Linked DNA regions of Homo sapiens: all the other regions are linked to region 3. Evidence: promoter capture Hi-C in 16 types of primary human blood cells and fetal thymus (Javierre and others, 2016). All regions are on one chromosome and are shown on one strand. The core of a region is centred on a gene start or on the middle of the fragment in contact, and the rest is flanking DNA. Distances in the headings are between cores, read along the strand shown.

The links. The method cuts DNA at HindIII sites, captures the fragments that hold promoters and counts their contacts. A CHiCAGO score of 5 or more calls a contact.
Region 1: a contact is called between a fragment that was not itself captured here and the fragment with the promoter of MMP20 in region 3, in 2 of 17 cell types (M1 macrophages and M0 macrophages). The highest score is 7.1, in M1 macrophages.
Region 2: a fragment that was not itself captured here is called in contact with the fragment with the promoter of MMP20 in region 3 in 3 of 17 cell types (M2 macrophages, M1 macrophages and M0 macrophages); the score reaches 8.4 in M2 macrophages.

What each region holds. Positions count from the first base shown.
Region 1 is chr11:102,519,176-102,522,715 of GRCh38, forward strand. It overlaps MMP7 (matrix metallopeptidase 7), which reads right to left. Exons shown (of 6, transcript NM_002423.5): 6 at 1,333-1,629. The coding sequence ends at 1,601. Among named protein-coding and RNA genes, the nearest start is that of MMP7, 9.8 kb to the right of the region's middle. The HindIII fragment of the contact is 3,711 bases long and covers 1-3,269 here.
Region 2 is chr11:102,500,523-102,503,794 of GRCh38, forward strand. No RefSeq gene overlaps it. Among named protein-coding and RNA genes, the nearest start is that of MMP7, 29 kb to the right of the region's middle. The HindIII fragment of the contact is 4,304 bases long and covers 1-3,272 here.
Region 3 is chr11:102,623,994-102,627,226 of GRCh38, forward strand. MMP20 (matrix metallopeptidase 20) reads right to left here and starts at 1,339. Exons shown (of 10, transcript NM_004771.4): 1 at 1,201-1,339. The coding sequence starts at 1,326. The HindIII fragment of the contact is 723 bases long and covers 806-1,528 here.

The sequences.
Region 1 (3,540 bases), core at 164-2,663, 100 kb before region 3:
TATTCTTGGAATGGCTTCCTAAGGCTGCAGGATAGTTCCGAATTTCGGGATATTGATCTGCTTTTAGGGTATGTGTGGGAAGGATAATTTTTATCAGTAAGAAAGTAAATTTCAATTGTTCATCTCCCTATAGAGAAAGCCATTCATGGGTGTTGGGAGTGTGGAGAAGGAGGAAGAAAGAGAAGGCTGAAACAGCAAAGCCCTTGCCAGCTCCGTGTTCTGCTAAAAGGTTAAACCTTGCATAGAGAGTGCTTCACCCAGAGAAACACAGTGGGTTTCTACGTGTGGAAAGGGAGGACCTGAGCTGAAGGACATCAGGAAAATGAGTTTCTGGGGAAGTGAGAAGGAGTGGGGTTTAAAGACAAGAGGAGTTGGGAGACAGGTGGCAAGAGGCTGCAGCCTGCAGAAGCAGGTGGCCAATGAGAAATTCCTGATCGGGGATAAGTAAAGGATTTGGGCTGGGTGCGGTGGCTCACACCTGCAATCCTAGCACTTTGGGAGGCTGAGGCTGGTGGATCACTTGAGGTCAGGAGTTCAAGACCAGCCTGGCCAATAGGGTGAAACCCCATCTCTACTAAAAATACAAAAATTAGCCAGGGATGGTGGCATGTGCCTATAATCCCAGCTACTTGGGAGGCTGAGGCAGGAGAATCGCTTGAACCCACGAGGCGGTGGTTGCAGTGAGCCGAGATCGCGTGCCACTGTACACCAGCCTGGGTAACAATGACACTGCCTCCAAAAAAAAAAAAAAGGATTTGAAGGATGGGGATAATATCCATAATATCCAATTTTAGTTTTGTTCAATTTCATGACCCTTGCACAGTAGAAAATTCCACTATTTATGCAAATCTCCAGCAACATCTACATTCTCATTAAAGCCTGTAGCACTGGTCTGTAGAAAGTTAAAGAGAACAGGGTGAGACCAACATCTGCGTTGGCATGGGGAAAAGGGAAGGGAACCTAGAGAGTGGCTGCAGCAGGAGAGGTTGCAGGAAAATCAGGAGGTGAGGGGCAGGTAGGAACTTGGAGCTGGAAGTGACCGTGAGGTGGTAAGTCTTAAGTTGTTGGAAATTCTCAGACATTTGTGGGAAGAATTGGACTTTCCAGAGGACTCAGTGTGAGAGCACGGGCCACAAAGGTAAGGGGAAATTAGTGTAACTTTGGGCCACACTAATGAACAATAAAGAGGTGGAGCTCCCACCTTCCCTCTTGGGTGGAAGGGTGAGGTGCTGCGGAAGACCTCAAAATAGTGTGGTGGGATTCTTTTTTTGTCTTAGTCTTTCGTTTCATTGTATAGTATGTCTTCACAGAAAGAGTGCTCCAAACTATAAATAAATTTACCATGGAATAAACATTTTATTTATTTGTGTATGTAACATTTATTGACATCTACCCACTGCAAGTATAGATGAATAAGACACAGTCACACCATAAAGGAGTTTATCCTTAAAAGGAGTGAAAGACATTCAAAAACCAACTGCAATAAAAAAGGGTGACATAATTGCTAAATGGAGTGGAGGAACAGTGCTTATCAATTCTGATTGTGCAACAATGATATACAATCCAATGAATGAATGAATGGATGTTCTGCCTGAAGTTTCTATTTCTTTCTTGAATTACTTCTCTTTCCTATTGAGAGAAAAAAAAAGAACATTCTGATATGTAGAAAATGCATAAAAACCATCCTAAGATTATACAGGCAAAGGAAATGTCACAGAAAGTATAATCTATTATTCACTCAGACCATTTCTTGTCCCTGGGACAAAGATTCTGAAGAACAACCTCCAGAGGCTAAGAAGGCAGGATTGACTGGAGTGTGGGCCCAGGGCTCAGGTACCTTTGCATCTTGTTTCTACCAGTTTACTAGATGTGTGACCTTAGGTAGTTTACTACTTAACCTCTCTTAGCATCAGATTACAAATCTGTAAAATGTGGATAATAATGTCTCATTGAATTCTTGAATTAAATGAGTTAATCCATGTGAAGTCTTGGGATACTGCAAGTACTCAATGCATGTTAGCTATTATTTATTTATTTTTTGAGATGGAGTCTCACTCTGTTGCCCAGGCTGGATTGCAGCGGTGTGATCTTGACTCACTGCAACCTCTGCCTCCTGGGTTCCGGCAATTCTCATGCTTCAGCCTCCTGAGTTGCTGGGACTACAGACATGCACCTTCACGCCCGGCTAATTTTTGTATTTTTAGTAGACATGGGGTTTTACCATGTTGTCCAGGTCTCGAGCTCCTGGCCTCAAGCGATCCCCAACCACCTTGGCCTCCCGAAGTGCTGGGTAAAGGCGTGAGCCACCGCGCCCAGCCAGCTATTATTTTTATCATTCTGAGTATAGCATTAGGAATCTTGTATCTTAATCACTTTCTTTGGAATCTATGTTTTCTGCTCATATTACTTTTTAGATTAACTCCCTACATATACAGCCCACATAATTAAATTCTATTTCCATTTGTCCAGAAGTTACTTGTTTCCAACTCTGACCAGAGATGCCCTTTTGTCTAATACTTAAGGTTTTAATGCACTAGTCTCTTTTCTTCCTGTTAAATTTAATCAGCATGCCTCAGACCTTCTTTAGTCTCTTTGTATTTTTCTTAGGGTTCTAAAATATTTATAGACTGCTATAGAATATTCCATGAGTTCCACAGTTTTATGTAAGGGGAGGATAGTATTTTCAGTTTTGTTCATGATAACTTTACGAACAATAGTCAGCATTTTGTGAATCTTTTGGACAGCAGTGGTTCTTTACGTCGTAACTTTTGGGAATAGTTACACAGCATTTTCCAAAGTGTGTTCTCTGAAGTGCTAGTTTATGGGACTCATTGAGACCCATAAAAAGGATTATAATTTAGGAAACACTGAGTTAAACATTTGTTCAATACTCCATACTCTCTAATAGTCTATACACCTGAAATACAGTAGGTAGTGTTTCTTGAACTTATTTCTCCATAGCCTCCTTTTCTGGGAATCACCCTGTAGGACTAGTGTTCTGAGAATACAGTTTGGGACATGCTGATTTATAGCAAATGCTAGGTTGAACTGATATCTTAAATCCAGTGTCTTACTGGAATATTTCTCCCCTGAGGACAGTCCTCTATTATGTGGAAGCACTTTCATTGCTCACGTGATCATTTGAAGAATCTTAAGTGATCTTTTTGCAGTGTATTCTCTTCATCCTGATATTTTTACTGGCTAGGTTTAGTTATATCTGCTGATTTAAAGATGTCATTCTGTATTCTTTTATTCTTACTAGGATAAAAAGCTTACTGGGTAGTGATAGGCAGGAATATGTCGTAGAAAAAGTATGAAGTCACATAGCCCTCACTTGGAATCATGGCTCAAGCACTCGACAGTCACATGACCTTGGACAGTCCACTTAGCCTCTTTGAATCTTACTTTCCTTATCTTTATCCAGAGACAGAGCTTTTTATTCTTGTCCTTTGATTTCTTTCTCAAATACTACTTTTGGCTGACTCAATACAGTAAATCCAAATCAGTGCACTTAAAAAAACTGAATTTGGAACTTGATTA
Region 2 (3,272 bases), core at 412-2,911, 120 kb before region 3:
GAAAAATATTTTATGGTGTTATTATTACAAAATAAATTCCTGTCCATTATAAAAACACATATAAGGAAAACCTGGATATGACCATGCATACTATTTTGTTCTTTATCATTCCACACCTAAACATATGTTTATACTATATTTATACATTTAAAAAATATGTTTAAAATATACTAAAAAATAGAACTGATAATTCAATACATAGTATTTTACAAATTGAATTTTAACTTATATTATGATCTTTTTTCATTGTAAATTTTTCTCTTTTTTTGAGGAAAAATATATATAACATAAAATTTAATGTCTTAATCATTTTTAAGTGTACAGTTCAGTGGTATTAAGTACATTCGTATGCTTGTACAACCATCACCACCATCAATCTCCAGAACACTTTCCTTCTTGCAGAACTGAAGCTGTATGCCCATTAAACAATAATTCTCTATTGCCCCTTCCCCCAAAGGCCCTGGAAACTATCATTCTACTTTCCATCTCTATGAATGTTATACTCTAAGTACCTCATGTAAGTGGAGTCATGCAGTGCTTGTCTTTTTGTAACTGGCTTATTTCACTGAGCCTAAGGTCCTCAAGTTTTATCCAGAATTTTCTTCCTTTTTATGGCTAACATTCCATTGTGTATATATACCACATTTTGTTTATCTGTTCATCTGTCAGTGGACACTTGTGTGCCTCCACATTTTAGCTCCCGGGAATAATGCTGCTATGAACATGAGTGTACAACTGTGTCTTTGAGACCCTGCTTTCAATTCTTTTGCGTACTTTCCCAGAAGTGGAATCGCTGCATCATATGATAATTCTGCTTTTATTTCTTGGAGAACCACTGTACTGTTTTCCACAACTGCTATACAATTTTCCCTCGAAGTGTGCACAGAGGTTCCAATTTCTTCATATATTCACCCACACTTATTCTCAGCTTTTAAAAATAGAAGCCATCTTAGGGGATGTGAGTGAGGCAGTATCTTGTTGTGGTTTTGATTTGCATTTCTCTAATGATTAGTGATGTTGAGCATGTTTTAATGTGCTTATCGATCATTTGTATATATTCTTTGTAGAAACTTCTATTTAAGTTCTTTGCCCATTTTTAAATCAAAATTTTTTTGTTGTCAAATTTTAGGAGGTCTCTATATATGCTCTATATTAATTCCTTATCATATATATGATTTGCAAATATTTTCTCCCATTCTTTGGGTTGCCTTTTTATTCTGTTGAGAGTGTTTTTTGATGCACAAAATTCTTACATTTTCATGAAGTCCAGTATGTGCATTTTGTTGTTGTTGTCTGGGCTTTTGGTGTCCTATCCAATAAATCATTGTCAAATCCAATATCATGAAGCACTTGCCCTGTGCTTTCTTCTCAGAATTTTTTTTTTGTTTGGTTTTCTGTTCCTGTGTTAGTTTGCTAAGAATGATAGTTTCTAGCTTCATCCATGTCCCTGCAAAGACATGAACTCATTCTTTTTTATGGCTACGTAGTATTCCGTGGTGTATATGTGCCACGTTTTCTTTATCCAGCCTATCATTGATGGACATTTGGGTTGGCTCCAAGTCTTTGCTATTGTAAATAGGGCTGCAATAAACATACGTGTGCATGTGTCTTTATAGTAGAGTGATTTTTTTTGTTTGTTTGTTTTGAGAGGGAGTTTTCCTCTGTTGCCCAGGCTGGAGTGCAGTGGTGTGATCTCGGCTTGCTGCAACTTCCACCTCCCGGGTTAAAGTGATTCTCCTGCCTCAGCCTCCCAAGTAGTTGGGATTACAGGTGCCTGCCACCATGCCCAGCTAATTTTTGTATTTTTAGTAGAGACGGGGTTTCACCATGTTGGTCAGGCTGGTTTTGTACTGCTGACCTGAGGTGATCTGCCTGCCTTGGCCTCCCAAAGTGCTGGGATTATAGGTGTGAGCCACCACACATGACAGTAGAATGATTTATAATCCTTTGGGTATATAACCAGCAATGGGATTGCTGGGTCAAATGGTGTTTCTGGTTCTAGATCCTTGAGGAATCACCACACTGTCTTCCACAATGGTTGAACTAATTTACACTCCCACCAACAGCGTAAAGCATTCCTATTTCTCCACATGCTCTTCAGCATCTGTTGTTTCCTGACTTTTTAATGATTGCCATTCTAACTGGCATGAGATGGTATCTCATTGTGGTTTTGATCTGCATTTCTCTAGTGACCAGTGATAACGAGATTTTTTTTCCTATGTTTTTTGGTCACATAAATGTCTTCTTTTGAGTAGTGTCTGTTCACATCCTTTGCGCACTTTTTGATGGGGTTGTTTTTTTCCTGTAACTTTGTTTAAGTTCCTTGTAGATTCTGGATACTAGACCTTTGTCAGATGGATAGATTGCAAAAATTTTCTCCCATCTGTAGGTTGCCTGTTTACTCTGATGATAGTTTATTTTGCCGTGCAGAAACTCTTTAGTGTAATTAGATCCCATTTGTCAATTTTGGCTTTTGTTGCATGCAATTGCTTTTGGTGTTTTAGTCACGAAGTCTTTGTACATGCCTATGTCCTGAATGGTATTGCCTAGGTTTTCTTCTAGGGTTTTTGTGGTTTTAGGTCTTACATTGAAGTCTTTAAACCATCTTGAATTAATTTTTGTATAAGGTGTAAGGAAGGGGTCTGGTTTCAGTTTTCTGCATATAGCCAGCCAGTTTTCCCAACACGATTATTAAATAGGGAATCTTTTCCCCGTTGCTTGTTTTTATCAGGTTTGTCAAAGATCAGATGGTTATAGATGTGTGGGGTTATTTCTGAGGCTTCTGTTCTGTTTTGTTGGTCTATATATCTGTTTTGGTACCATTACTATGCTGTTTTGGTTACTACAGCCTTGTAGTATAGTTTGAAGTCAGGTAGTGTGATATCTCCAGCTTTGTTCTTATTCTTAGGATTGTCTTAGCTGTGTGGGCTTTTTTTTGGTTCCATATGAAATTTAAAGTAGTTTTTTTCTAATTCTGTGGAGAAAGTCAATGGTAGCTTGATGGGAATAACATTGAAACTATAAATTACTTTGGGTGGTATGGCCATTTTCATGACATTGATTCTTCCTACTCATGAGCATGGAATGTTTTTCCATTTGTTTGTGTCCTTTCTTATTTCCTTGAGCAGTGGTTTATAGTTCTCCTTGAAGCAGTCCTTCACATCCCTTTTAAATTGTGTTCCTAGGTATTTTATTCCCTTTGTGGCAATTGGAATGGGAGTTCACTCATGATTTGGCTCTCTGTCGTCTGTTATTGGTGTATAGTAATGCCT
Region 3 (3,233 bases), core at 89-2,588:
AGTTCAGTTCAACATGGTTGTGCTGGGCATCAGCTGTGCTGTTCATCTGCGGGGCTGATATTTAAGTGTTTAATGACTGGTATGGCCGGGGAACTGACCAGTTAATAAGGATGAGTGGCAGAAACAATCGGTAGGGACATGCCATTGCACATGGGTGCAAATCAGCTCTACGATGCAGACAGCCAAGCGGTACACAGGTGCAGCCTGGCAGTCAGGAAAGCAGCCCTGAGGCGGAGCTGGTGATCACAGATGTGCTGTAATGTTGGCAGACTCTTGAAAGGGAGGCCTGTGTGCAAAAGCATTTCCTCTATATATCTTTCACTAATGTTGGAAATTCCATCCGTAGACATCCATTTCTTTAGGTTAAGGATGCCACCCTTCTTTTAAAAACAAAACACGCTTGGAAGCATATATATATATATATATATATATATATATATATATATATATATATGTAGAAATCATTTTGAGTCAAGCAGTCTTTGTGAAATATTTGAATATGGATCATTTCTATCAGACCCTTTCCAGCAGTCATAGAGGAGAGATCTCAAAAGAGGAAAATACACAAAGTTTAAGTACATAAACGTTGTACTTTGTACTTACTACATAAACTTTGTTATGTACTTTGTACATAAACTTTTACTTCATTGGGGAATATGCTTTAGGGAGAAAAGGCCTTCAAATGAGAAGTGGGTTGGCACCCAGGAAGAACTTAGTCCACTTTAAATTTTGATCAGGGTTACCTTGAATATAAGAGCCATTTAAAAAGTGGAAACACAGGAAATCTCCTTGTTGTGACCGCTAAAGCTTAGCACTAAATTCACAACCTGCCTCTAGCGTGTGGATTATGCCTCGGTTTTTATTTTTCTGCTTCTATTTTTCCTCCTACATCATTCCCGGGAAGTACTTGTTTGCTCCTTTTATATTGCATGGTTTTCACAAGCCACCTGGAATTCTTTATGAAGCAAGATAGCTAGGTAGATATATCCTCATGTATTTATTCAGTCATGTAACATGGTACACCTAATATGCACCAGACACCAATCTAGGTGGACAGAAGATAGCATCAGTTAGACTTCAATGGACTTATATAAAATGATTTTAAAAGAACAATAGAATTTTTTTCTTATTTTCTCACTATGCCCTTTTAGGTTTTCTAGGGCAGAGGAGCAAGAAGGAATTGGGCAAAAATTCACAAACCTGTGCGAGGCGGTAGTTGTTCCTCCAGGTCCTGGGGGAGGCTGCAACTAGGGAGGGGGCTGCAGTGGAAAACTTCAAAGCCATGATGAGGAAGACAGCAAGGCCAGATGCAGGGAGCACCTTCATCCCCTCACAGTAGCTTGGTAATTATATCAGCCTGGGGGATGGCAGACAGTGCACGTTTGCACTTCGACCTTGAGCTCCTTTTATAGAGTCAAACAGGTCTGGACCCTCCGAGCAAGGATGATTCATGTCTCAAACAGTAATTATACAGCTCATTTCTCTCCCTGATGATGGGGTAACACAACTGTACACAGGAATCAGGGAAAGCTTCATATTTTTTTTGTTATTTACCAAGTGGCAAAAGGAGAAAAACAGTCACTTTTAATGAAGTTGGTCAGCTAGTTACAAAAATTGAAGTAAACTTGATTGATTTGAACCCAACTCAACTGAAACATTTGATTAGTCTTCATTTGGGGGCCTTTTTCCATTCTGATTACAGAAAAGTTAGATGATTACAGTATAATTGAATTTGTCCTCCAAGTAATCCCAAACTCCCCATGCATTCAACCCAATCGCCTGTATCTCCTGCATTCACTTCAAAATTTCTTAGTAGCAACTGCTGTTCATAATGATGGCTCTGAGACACATAAGATCCTGAATCATCAAGGCAAGATTACATTATACTGTGCTGACTTAGGGTGGAAAGTGAACTGGTAACTGTTAGAAAGCTTTTGGATGAATTAAGGCAAGAGTTACGTCTTCGTTAACCAAAACAATAGCCAGAACTCCCCAATCTCTGTGTACTCTGGTTAATTGGAGTCATATTGTTTTTCCTGGGTCTGATTAAGATGGATTTGGATCCAGAGATGATACGGTGAAATGGTGTCATATGGTGGGAAAAGCACTTAGAGTCAGACAAAGCAAGACTAAATATTTAAAAAGATATTTCCTAGCTGTGTGATGTTGGGTATGTCATTTAATCTCTGAATATCAAGTTTTTTTTAATCTACAAAAGACTGACAATACTACTACTATGTATAAACTTTTCAGTGTTATGGAGTAACACATATAGCATGACATCTGCAAGCACCACTTGGCATCCACTAGATGTGGATTCAAATCCTAATTTTGATTTTAGACTAAATTCAAGGTTATTCCTATAGTGAATACAGTGAATTCCTATAGTCTTTCTCACTCTGTTGCATTTTGATATGCTTTCTTTGCATGGAAGAGAAGATGGTGGAGTTACAGCCAATGTTTGGTATCTAGTGTACAACCCCAGGCACTGAACAAGAGTTTGTCACACATTAATATGGTTTGGCTCTGTGTCCCTAACCAAATCTCATCTCGAATTGTAATCCCCATGTGTTGAGGGAGGGAGGGGATTGGATCATGGGGGTGGTTCCGTCATGCTGTTCTCATGACAATGAGTGAGTTCTCACAAGATATGATGGTTTTATAGGTGTTTGAAAGTTCCTCCATTGATCTTCTCTCTCCTGCTGCCTTGTCAAGAAGGTGCCTGCTTCCCCTTTGCCTTGCACCATGATTCTAAGTTTCCTGAGGCCTCCCCAGCCATGTAAAACTGTGAGTCAACTAAGCCTCTTTCCTTTATAAATTACCCAGTCTCGGGTATTCCTTTATAGCAGTGTGAGAATGGACTAATACACACAGGCAAACAGAATTTCTGGCATGTACTGTGAGATAGACAAAACATGTGTCTCAGAAGAAGAAAAAAGAAAACCACAGATTAGATTCATTCAACTAAATTGTAAGCTGTTTGAAGACTGTATTCTAAAAAATGTTACTTAATCAAGTTTGTTAAAAAAAAAGAATGAATGAATGTACAAACATATACTAATCATTGCTTTTTGGTTTCAGGAAAGGAATAGGATATTGCAATAATTTTTCAAAATTTGCATTTATATGGTCTCCTGTCTTCTAGAGCCTTATCTTCAACAGCTGCTAAAATTGAAGAACAAAAAGAATCTTTGAAACTTCCCTTCAACTGGTCATCCTCTTCCCTTTTTCTC